3 separate regions of the Homo sapiens genome follow, and regions 1 and 2 are each linked to region 3. The links are contacts of gene promoters, found by promoter capture Hi-C in blood cells and fetal thymus (Javierre and others, 2016). All regions are on one chromosome and are shown on one strand. Each heading gives the region's core, a stretch centred on a gene start or on the middle of the fragment in contact. The rest is flanking DNA. Distances are from core to core; before and after follow the strand shown. Region 1 holds the start of RTL3 (retrotransposon Gag like 3). Region 2 holds the start of LPAR4 (lysophosphatidic acid receptor 4). Region 3 holds the start of ATP7A (ATPase copper transporting alpha).

The links. Contacts are between HindIII fragments. The CHiCAGO score rates a contact against its expected background, and 5 or more counts as called.
Region 1: a contact is called between the fragment with the promoter of RTL3 here and the fragment with the promoter of ATP7A in region 3, in 3 of 17 cell types (neutrophils, activated CD4 T cells and erythroblasts). The highest score is 8.9, in neutrophils.
Region 2: the fragment with the promoter of LPAR4 here is called in contact with the fragment with the promoter of ATP7A in region 3 in 2 of 17 cell types (naive B cells and megakaryocytes); the score reaches 10.6 in naive B cells.

What each region holds. Positions count from the first base shown.
Region 1 is chrX:78,657,984-78,661,856 of GRCh38, forward strand. RTL3 (retrotransposon Gag like 3) reads right to left here and starts at 1,345. Exons shown (of 2, transcript NM_152694.3): 1 at 1,278-1,345; 2 at 1-665. The coding sequence starts at 437. The region is part of intron 1 of LOC107985670 (a long non-coding RNA gene); the gene reads left to right. The HindIII fragment of the contact is 2,616 bases long and covers 1-2,301 here.
Region 2 is chrX:78,745,426-78,749,265 of GRCh38, forward strand. It overlaps LPAR4 (lysophosphatidic acid receptor 4), which reads left to right and starts at 2,295. Exons shown (of 5, transcript NM_001278000.3): 1 at 2,295-2,609. The HindIII fragment of the contact is 2,609 bases long and covers 1,126-3,734 here.
Region 3 is chrX:77,908,517-77,912,301 of GRCh38, forward strand. It overlaps ATP7A (ATPase copper transporting alpha), which reads left to right and starts at 2,177. Exons shown (of 23, transcript NM_000052.7): 1 at 2,177-2,319. The HindIII fragment of the contact is 7,135 bases long and covers 1-3,785 here.

The DNA of each region.
Region 1 (3,873 bases), core at 95-2,594, 750 kb after region 3:
TCCTGGGTGTTTGCAGGCCCCTGGCCCTCCAAGACTGTTGGGATCTCATGGGCCATTGGAGGTTTCTGGGACTCCCGGGTTGCTGGAGGCGCCAGGGACTCTGGGGCTGCTGGGGCCTCCTGGAGTTCCCAGGCTGCTGGGGGTTCCCAGGGTAGAAGATCCTGTGGCTCTGGTGGCTTCTGGGGTTCCTTGAACTCTGGGGTCTTTTGGGCCTCCCAGGCTGCTGGGGGATTCATGTGCTCTGGGAGCTTCTGGGGCTCCTTGGCCTCTGAGGACTTTCGGAGTAGATCATACTCCTTGGCTGCTTGGGACTTCTGAAGCTCTGGGATCTGGGCCTGGAGAGCAGCATTTTCTTCCATCAGCCACTGCACTTGAGCCTGCCGAATTTCATTCTCCAATTTCAGAACAATATAGGAGGCTGCTAAGTCCTCCACCATCTTTTGAGGAAATGGGTATGATTTGACAATTTGCTACCAAGAGAGATTGGGTGGGTGTTTGTGAGATCCTTCCTGAAAGCTGCTTACAGGCAGATGTCAGGCTCAGTGAGTTTTCCAAGGGGTGGTATTTGGGCCCCGCCAAGGCTGATTATCAAGAGGTCACTGGGAGCCTCCGGAGCTCGGCAAGAAGGAGCCTCCGGAGCTCAGTAAGGGGAAGTGTCAGATACACTGCGAAGAGAGTGGGAGCTGAGGATCAGAAACTGTGGAAAGCACACATTCAACATAAAACAAAATCTGCCCAACAATGCTGGGTTTCTTTTACCATAGGCTTATGTTCATGAGCTGGGGTATATATGCTGGATCTGACTCCACGACATTTTAAGAACAGCATCTGTCCCAAACTGCACATGTCATTTTGCATTTATCCTTTGAAACTTAACATTATATCAAAAGCAACTTTTTAATATTATTTTCTGTTTTATATAGTCTTTAATCTTGAATATCTGCCTAATATCCCAATGTAACATTTGGATTTTAACAGCTGCTTTCAGTGACTAAATCAAATGTTTGAGCAATGTGGGAATTTTAGGCTCTGCGGTGGGCCAGCCCAAGAGATATTTTTGGGTGACTAGGGTGGTAGGAAGTAGGAGGGAGCTCTTTCTGACACCTCAGAAATCATACCACATAAGTAACCACACAAGACCAGCCTCAGGAGAAAACAAGCAAAAGTCGACTAAATATATATATATATATATATATATGCCCTCAGAAGACACATGCATATTATTTATAAAATACCTCAAAATAGTTAAGAAAATAATCTTTATAAATGTACGTTACCATTCAGAGACTTAGTCCAGGAGCTTGGCTGTCTGTGTACCCATTGCTGAGGAGGGAAATGTGTAAATGGCTGTGGAGGCTTGCCTTTTCTGCACACACTGAACTCAAGCAAACACACCCACTCCCAGAACACATTCCAACTTTCCTCTGTAACATAGCTTTTTAAAGTGTGGAAGAGTTTTTTGACAGTACCTCACAGTTCAGAGCTGCAAGGAAAGTAGGATGCTGTGCTGATGTGAAGCAGCTTCATGTACTCAGTCCTTGGTTACTTTAATGAATATTTGGCCAGGAAATTGTGAGTAATACCACTGCCCTTGTGAAAAGTTGCAAACATTTTTGAATGACCACAGTGGTTTGGGATGTGATTTTTTATGTCTGTCTCATCTAACCTATTCTTACTCTGTCCAAATTGGGCCATTTGTTTACTTCTCACTCAGGGAACAGCCTGCAAACCCTCAGCCCCTTCCCTTGCTTACTACCTATTCAGTCCCTAGGGTTTTTCCTTGCAATGTTTTCTTGGAAAATTTGCCACAGACAGATCTAGAAAAGGTATAAAAGGGTACAAATGTCAGGGAGACCAATTGTGTTGGTGGGTACTTATAGCAGTCTTACAGAGTCCCTGGCTCTTTCTGAATGTCCTGGACCAAAGATCTCATGCTTCCCTGAACTGATCAGGTGCTCCAGGTAGCACTCAGGACATTCACTAAAGACTGGCCTCTTGGGAAGTAACCCTGCTCAGAATCTCACTTTCTCTTCTCATGCCAGATCACAGTTATGCCTTGGGTATGGGCTATGTGGCCATTTTAGGCAAGGCTTAGGGGCAACTATTTTTATCCAAGTAAGGAGTGGGGTTGAGGTTTGCATTTGGCCATTTCAAATCACACATCATGTCAACCACAGTCCCATGTCTCCTTCACAAATGGTCAGTTCTGCATTAGTCAGCATAATGGGATAAACCCTAGTGATGGAATAGGCCCAAAACATAGCAAATTGACAGACTGGGCTACCTGAATCCGAATGCAGAAGCTTTGAAAGTAAAAACAAAATCTTTTGCAAATCGAGTTTATTCTTTCCTTACCTTTCAAAGTTTTATTTTTCTAGAAACACCACACATATAAAAATACCACCATCATCAGGGATGATGTGATCTATTTATGTGAAGTTTTCAGATAACTGAAGCCTTCCTGCCCTCCAAGAAGCCAAAACACACAGTTAACATTTATTTTATCCAGAAAGAAAAGAGAACTTCCAACACCTGAATTTGTAACGGGCTTAGTTAGGGAACAACTATTAATTGAAACTCTTTCCTAATGTTTAGCAATTTCTGTAACAATGAGTTTGAAGGTTCAATACTGGACATCAAGTTGAAATTTAATAAAGAGTATTTCAATTTAAAAAAATCAGAGAAATATTTATAGCATATGTTATACCTCTTTGTCCATTCTTAAGAAATGATTTTGCATATAATTTAATCCAGTTTTAATGGTTTGGATTCATACTTACACAAACCAGCTAGTTTACCCTGTTGTAACACAGTGTTGCCCTCTGAAAGCTACTGAGAGGTATAAAGTGGTCTGTCTTCAAATTAAAAACTTCCAAATTGCTATGTTTTGCGACTTCTTGTATTTTCTTTTCCTTTATATTTTTATACTCTTTTGCAATCAAGTTGTAACATAGCCCTTCATGTTATACCTATATGCCTGTCTATACTTACCCTATACAAATTTGGCAAATTACTTCATCCTTCTGATAGTTAGAATCTAAACTTTAGTTTATGAAACTGTAAAATGAAGTTATTAATATTATTTGACTTTATAGGGTTGTCAAAAATTCAGTGAAATAATGTGTGAAAAAAGGATTAGCACAGTGTCTGGCAGCTAATAACACCCAATAAAGGTTAATAATAATAATAATAATAATAATAATAAGCTGTAGCAGCAGTAATCTCATTTTAATTTATTCTTTTTAATCACCTGTGAATTGGGAAACTGAATAGGTAAACATGCTAGAGTTGTGTAGAGGCTGAGAAAGGGGTCTCATACCGAGAAATCTACAGTGCATCGATTTTACAGCATTGGTTTTTCACCACTTGGGAACTTTTATCTATTCTTCCTTGCTGGGATATAGATGGTTTAGTTTCCAGATAGTACTCTAGAATCAGGACTGGAGGCACCTGAGCAGGAAGATTAGAAGATTAAAACTGGAATTGTGAAGCAGCCAAGATAGATGTTTAAAAAGTTCATGGACTAAAGCACTGAAAAGTGTCTTGCCTACAGGAATATTTATTCAGTGTATAAACACAGAAACCTTTCCTTCCCCAGCCCCCTACACTAAACAGCAAAGACCGAATTCACCGTCCTTAAGTACAAGTTCAAACTGCCTAAACATAGAGAATTATTCTTTTCTGGGTGGAAAAGGCAGCTACACAGACTTTTGTCAAAACGCCTAAAGTGGTTTCAGCATCCTGAATTAGTTAAGTGAGAACAGGAAAGTAAGAATAAGAAAGTAATCACATCCAAATTTTCATCATGTTTCCCCTACACTGTAATTCTTCTTCATACATTTACAATATGATGGAATGTATGGATCCTTTAGA
Region 2 (3,840 bases), core at 1,045-3,544, 840 kb after region 3:
AGGAAGGATTCCCTGAAGGCGTGATTATTGGGATAGGATTTGAAGGGAGAATAAGGATTAAACTGGTGAAAGGAAGATTAGAGAGGGAGGAGAGTGTTCCAGGCAGAGGAAATAGCACTTAGAAATATCCATGGCATGAGTGATCCTATCTCATTCTAGGGGCTGGAAGAGGATCAATGAGGCTGAAACTCAGAAGGGAGGAAGACTGATGCTAAAAGAGCACGTGACCCAGTGACATTGTAAAAGATCTGCTACATTGGTGAGATTAATCAGCAAAGTACTTGTGTCCTTGAGGGAGAAATGAAGACAGAAGAATTGGAAAACTTATGGCTATTAATTTGAAGAGGAGAAAGGTAGTGAGCTGATCATATAGACAGACAGTGATCATGACTATAGGTTAACCCTTCAATCACTATAGTGCATTGAGTTGCTACAGTAAAGTACTCCTCTCAAAAGCTTTTCTCCTTACCCTTATTTTCCCTTTACAAACTGGTCTCCTTCTCACCTACTCTCACTTTACATCTTCTGCATTTGATCACTTTGCTCTGCCCACCTAGAAATATATCCCCTTCCATTCTTGGTTTATTTAATACTGAATCATCCACCAAAATGTGGCACAAATCCCACTTCTTCTAAGAAACCCTCCTGGCCCTATCCATGGGACTTCATCTCCATCCTCTGATCTATTACAGAACTCAATCTCCATATAACTGCCTTGGTATTTTTTTTTTCAAAATTTACCTTTGGTATCCCACTTTTTTCATGTGTCTTTGTGTCCCTACCTAGACTCTGGCATACTGCAGGGTAGAGACTGTATCTTTCGCCTGTGGACTGACAAATGCACCGAGTACTGGTCTAGGATGAGAGTTGGTAAAAGACCATTTATAAAGACACAGACAATGTCAGCAACTGACAGAAATAGACATATTTGAGATAAGCAGAGAGGGGAATAAAAAGAACAGAGATGGGCGGTGGGATGGAGAAGAGGAAGCAACAGAGAAAGTGTTTTTTTAGAGCCAGTTACAAGTAATAAGGCTAGTGTCAGCTTCACACTAACTTGTTTACTGGCCTCCACTGATAGTGAGAAGAGCCACAATAGAGCTGAACAAATAGGGAGAATAAACAAGCTTGAAACATGCCCTACTTGGGAGGCAGCTTAATTACACAAACTGAAGTTCTGAAGCAAATAGAGGATCCTCCAAGACTCCAGGGGCTCTGCTCTGCCAAGAGAAAGAAAGCACCTTATCCCTGGGCAGAGAATTTCATTCCAGAGGAGGGGGAGGGGCTGCTGTTGGTGGCTTTTGCAGTGGGTGGAGATAGAGTAGAGAAGGCTTGCAGGGGTGGGCTGGCAGAGGGGAAGGGCCAACAATGAAGTTACAGATGGATGAGTGGGTTTCTGCCACAAAATCAGATCAAGGAGAGGGAGGTGAAGAGGAAAATATAGGGAGGAAAAAAAAAAAGAATTGTGAGTGACCAAGGCAGTAAACCTGTAGATAATTAGAAAAGAAAATCTTGCCATGGGGGAGGTGGGCGGAGGTATACAGTTGCAGATAACTCTCTATTGTAAATAGATTGCATCTGTGCTATTTATTTTGTATTTTAGCAAATCTCTGAAATTTTCATGGTAATTAGACTTACTGCGAGGCAGTTACTTGAGAAGTGTAGACCCTCCTTTTGCTACAGAACACTCCCTAGTCCTTGGAAGGTGGGTGTCAGAGCTCTGGGACCCTAGTACATCTCTATCTGAGGGCACTTATCTGGCTTAAGTGAGTGTAGTATTAAAATTTACTTTATATTTTTGTGATGGTGGGAGATTGAATTTTGCACAGTGTGATAGGAATATTTTTATGGTACCTTTCATTTTTGCCTTTTCCTTGCCCCCTACTTATTATTATCAATATTGTTGTAATTATTTTAAACAAGTAGGAGCGAACATGGTATGCATAATTGAAACACTCCTCCTTGTTTGAAATGTTGTCTCCTCCTCTGCAGTCCTGCGGCAAAGACAGGCACACAGGCTTTCTCTGTGGATTAATTGGTCAGGAAAGACACTTTTTATATTGTCAAGTGGCACTTAAGCCATTAATTCTTGACTGTGAAACTGCTTTTCCTGGGCAATGCTCTTTAAGGAAAAACTTATTCAGTCCAGTGACTGGTGACTAAGGGAACGATGGAGCACAGGGAATTGGGCGGGATCTAGACTCCTAATAATGCCTCCTTAGCCAATGAAAAGCATTTCCTATTGAGACCCCCAAGAGTTCCCCTGGCCGTCGGCTCCAGCTCGGACTTCAGGCCTTTTTGTGTCCTGTTTGCTAAAGGCATGCGGGCTACAGCATTCAAGAGAGGGAGTCGTTAACAAAGGGAAAGAGATAAATGTAAATAAGCTCACATTTACAGAATGAGCGGTTTGCAGTAAAAAGCTGCGGCAGCCCAGAGTCTGCTACTTTAGGCTGGGCTAACCTTTCCCTGTAAAAAAAAAAAAAAAAAAAAAAAAAAAAAAATGGATAAAAATATGCACTTCCAAAGGGCGAGTTGCCCATTTACATGTTTATTAGCTAATTATCTACAGGCATCAGCACATTCTCTCATCTAGCACACTCTTTCTTGGGGTAAGTTTCTCTTTTAAAAAGATTTGATTTTGGCGTTTGGGGGTGGGGGATAGCATAACAAACTACAGTGGAAACACTGATGCTTTGAGAGTGTAAGGAAAGAAGTTAGACTTCAACTCTGAAGTACTGAACAAGGATCTTCGTGATGAATGGTAAAAAACGAGAATTTCCATTGTTTTGGCAATAATATTGTTTCCGTGGAAGACATACAGGATTTTCAGGCTGCTGTTTCATGTAAACACAGTTGTTCTAAAGAGCTAATTTAAAATCACAGTGTAGAACAATTTAGAAAGTATGTCGACTAGCTTTGTATTTCTTTGGTTTACAGTTTATTGTGCGCTAACGTGGCTTGTATTATGATGAGGTTTCTTCTAGTAAAACTATACATGACATGTCTTTGATGCTTAATTGATTTATGGAGAATGTGACATTTGCTATATTGAATAATTCATGAACTTGCCCATAAAGGAAGAATCATGTTTGAATGAAAAACTCTGTCATAAACTGAATTTGCAATTATATGTGAAATTAATTGCTGTTTGCCATACAAATGCATCAATGTGTCATCTTTAAACTCTCTTCTTGTAAATTTTAAATATTTTCAGTAAAAAGGTCTTATTGAGTTGCTAAATACAGTATTTCAGTTACCTTTTAAAAGGAAATTCAGCAATGTAATTTATCATTATTTCAGTGTGGAAAAGACCAGACAAATTCAAAGGTTAGAATATTTCAGAGCTTGGTGGGGTTATTCACTTTGCTACCTTACAAAATTATACCATCTTTCTTTATCTTGACTAACATAAAGACAATAATAATAACCTGAGATCCAGATTACCCAATGGCTTTGCAACACGTTTATTTTTCAGAACAAAATTCCCAACATCATATCCCATCAACATAGATTATAAAACCTTTTGCCTTGTCACAGATGAAAAGTTGCACTCTTGCCAAGAAGGATGAGTTCACCTGATAAACTTGATGGCATCTACATTCTAAAGTCTCTCCTGCCAATCAGAGATGGGAATGAAAGCCTTATTGGAACAATCAGGCCAGTCTTTCAGAATGTGTGCTCTCTGCAAGTTAAAGGGAGAACCAGGAAGATGCCTCACAGAAACATTCAGGCCAAGCTTAGCTAAAGCTTGATCTATTCAATTGCCTTTTGGGAAAATGCAGTGAGAATTGTTGCCCTTGCTGTGGTTTGTTCAGCGCCTAATTGTGTAGCTACCTTTTG
Region 3 (3,785 bases), core at 927-3,426:
TTTAAAGACAAGAGTTTTAGGCTGGGCCTGGTGGCTCATATCTGTAATCCCAGCACTTTGGGCAGCTGAGGTGGGAGGATCATTTGAGGCCAAGAGTTCGAGACCAGCCTGGGCAACAAAGGGAGACTCCCATCTCCACACACAAAAAAATAAAAACTAGCCAGGTGTGGTGGTGTGTGCCCATAGTTCCAACTACTTGGGAGGCTGAGGTGCAAGGATCGCTTTAGCCCCGGAGTTTAAGGTTACAAGGACCTATGATCACACTTCTGCACTCCAGCCTGGGTGACAGCAAGACTCTCAAAACCAAACAACAACAAAATATATATATAGCTCTCTAGGTTTTTATGTTAAATATTAGAGTGCCTAAGAATGTACATGGTTGGCAGAGGATCTTGCAGCTCATAGTGATAAACTTTAGTATTTACATAAAAATACTAGATAGCTAGTAGATTCAATGTTCTGCTTCTGAAAAAGATATATTTTTGGTTTTGCCTTTTAGTGAATTTCTTTTGGATGCTTAACACAATGTTAATATAGTTACAAACCAACTTGCTAATATTTGGAAACCCACTTAAAAGCTATCTTCATTTCATATGATGTGATTTTTAAGATTTTAAATTTGGGGCTGAGTTTGTATCTTAATAATTAAGGCTGCACACATTGACAACTACAAAATAATGCCTGGGAAGATGAGTCCTGAGGCTAATTTTATATTTATGTGGATGAGTGTGGAGGGGGATAATAATTCTGAAATACTTAATCACAGACCTAAAATGTAGATCTATGGGTAATTTTAAATGTTGCCTGTCAAGGCTTAATAGGGACTTGACAACAGCTAGGATGGAAATTATTTCAACACTTAAATATGCTTACTTTGTGCCGGACGCTGTTCTAAGTCTTTTACAAATATTTACTTGATATTTGTATTTTGTGTACTATTTTGATTTCTGCAACATTATTAGGCTTCATACTCTTCTGTGGGAACTGGGTTCAAATGGTTCCAGATGAAAATACAAATAGTCCTGTGATTAGTTTTGTTCTACATCTTATGACAGATACTTCATGAAAGGAAATATGAAAAGGCCACATCTTGCTTTGAAATAAGTGAGATGGAGCCTCTCCCTCTTTTTACTGTTAATGTTCATAGTTTTAAAAATCCTAGAATTTTGCTGCTTTTCAAAATGTTAAGTTGGAAAGCAAGAATAAAATGACCCTTTTTTCAAATGTTTTCTGTACCATTTATTGCATTGTTTACATTTTATGCATCTCATTTCTAAATGAACTCATGGTAACAGAGACTGTAACACTTTTGCATCACCGGAATCTTCTAGGTGTGTAAAATGATGGACGAGTGAATGAATAAATGGGGGAGTGGTTCAGAGCTTGGAATGGCGCTATGAAGGTGGTGAAGTGACGTCCCTACCCCCTCAACACACATATAAAAATTATGAATTTATAAACATTTTCCTCTTGATGTAATTTTTCAATGGAGGGAAGAGGATAAATTCATAGTTCTGGCACTTACATCTGGAATTAGGCTACACAGTCTACGGGAAGCAAGTTAACACAGTCTAACAGATGCACGTGAATTTCATGCTGGGCGAAGATGAACTATGTGGAAGATGACTTATAAGGAGCTTTTATGTTACATCTTGGCAGTTAACACAGTCTAACTGATGCACGTGAATTTCATGCTGGGCGAAGATGAACTATGTGGAAGATGACTTATAAGGAGCTTTTATGTTACATCTTGGCAGTTAACACAGTCTAACAGATGCACGTGAATTTCATGCTAGGCAAAGATGAACTATGTGGAAGATGACTTATAAGGATCTTTTATGTTACATCTTGGCCTGAGGTTAGGAAACTAAAGATGACAAAGGCACTGTTTTAGTATGGGTTTTCTGGTTTCGCTTTTGTCGTGGGGGCGGGGTGGGATAGTGGACTCGTACCCTAACAAAGACCCACTCGAGGCTGCGTGTCGGCCCGGGGGCAGCAGGGGGCAGGAGAAGCTGGCTCTAGACCACGCGTTCCTTTTCACGTGACCAGTCGCTCTCTTTCCCGTGGCGGCCCTGCTTCCGGCAGGGGCATCACCCGGAAGTGGGGGTAGTCGAGGGAGGGAGGGGTAAAGGCGGCTGGCCGCCGCGGCGGGGGGTGGGAAAAGAGAAGCAGAGGGAGGAGTTGTTGCTGCCGCCGCCGCAGCCGCAGCTACTGTGACTTCTCCGATTGTGTGAGCTTTGTTGGAGCCTGCGTACGTGGATTTATCGCTGCCACGGTCTGCGTAGCTCCAGAGGTTTAACCATAGGATAGAGAAACCAGGTAAGTCCTACATTGGCTTCCCGTCGTCCTTTCTCCTGGAGGGGGTCTTCTGTGCTGTCAGTTTGTACTACGAGTGTGGTGAGAAGGTCATGTTAGTCTGGGGCAGTCTCGAAAGTTTCACTTATTCACAATTCAGGTATTAACTACATTTATGTTTTACCTCCCCTAACAGGGGATAGAGGAGGGGAAATTAAATCCTGACCTGTGTCACTTTCTTGTACCCTCTTGGAGAGAATGTCCTGATCATCCATGGCCTACGTTACCCAATTAATTGAGGGTACAAGAAAGTTTGTGTTTGGCATTGAAAGTCACATGGACTGGGGTCTTTGCTTAGTGACACCTCTTTATACTTTGGAAGCTAAGGTTACTAAAATGACCATAATTGATGAAATAATAATTGAAAAATAGATATTTGGCTTCTTGTCTTGCTCTGGGAGCGTAAGGTAAACTGAGAGAACTCTTGTTTCCACTTAGTTTTGTTCATTGTGCCCCCTTTCCAGTAAAGTTACTGTCCATTGTCCGACCCTGTGGCATCTTATCTTTGACACTTTTCTTCGTTGTAGACGTTGAGATTATCTTAAGCACAAACACTTATCGTTTCACAATTCAGCGTTTGTCCAGGATCTGATCTTTATTTTAATCACAGACTCTTTATCTACAATAGTATGGCTTTGTATTGAGAATATGTGCAGAACATTGAATTAGATGATACTGAGGTTATTAATTTTTTTTTTTTTTTGCCGGGTGCGGGGGGGTGGTGGGGAGGGGGTGATGCACAAGAAATAAGACAGAGTTCCTGGCCTCAAAAGAGTTTACTTACAGTAGGCTGGGCGCAGTGTCTGACACACCTGTAATACCAACACTTTGGGAGGCCGAGGAGGGTGGATCACCTGAGGTCAGGAGATCGAGACCAGCCTGGCCATCATGGCGAAACCCTGTCTTTACTAAAAATACAAAAATTAGCTGGGCGTGGTGGCGGGCGCCTGTAATCCCAGCTAGTCGGGAGACTGAGGCAAGAGGATCGCTTGAACCTGGGAGGCGGATGTTGCAGTGAGCCGAGATCGTGCCACTGCACTCCAGCCTGGGCTACAAGAGCGAAACTGTCTCCAAAAAAGAAGAAAGAAAAATAAACAGTTTACATACAATTGAGTCCGAATTGAGTCAGTTGAATTCAGCTATGAAGACAACGGTTTCTAGCAGCCCCACTGACTGAATTACTAGGTTGCTTATCACATCCTTTTCAATGGTTATTTTTGAACTGGCATTTTATTATATTTAACATTTTCTGGTGTCTAAGGTCATGACATGAGAGAGTTTTTTTTGTACTTGAGGATCTCAATGTAGTAGGAAAGAAAGATACACGATTACCTAAACATTTAAAAAATCTCACTAACGTTATATATTAGAAACAGGAGGTGTTATGAGAGTGCAGGGAAGGGAGCATGTGAACTGGGCTTTGAAAAATA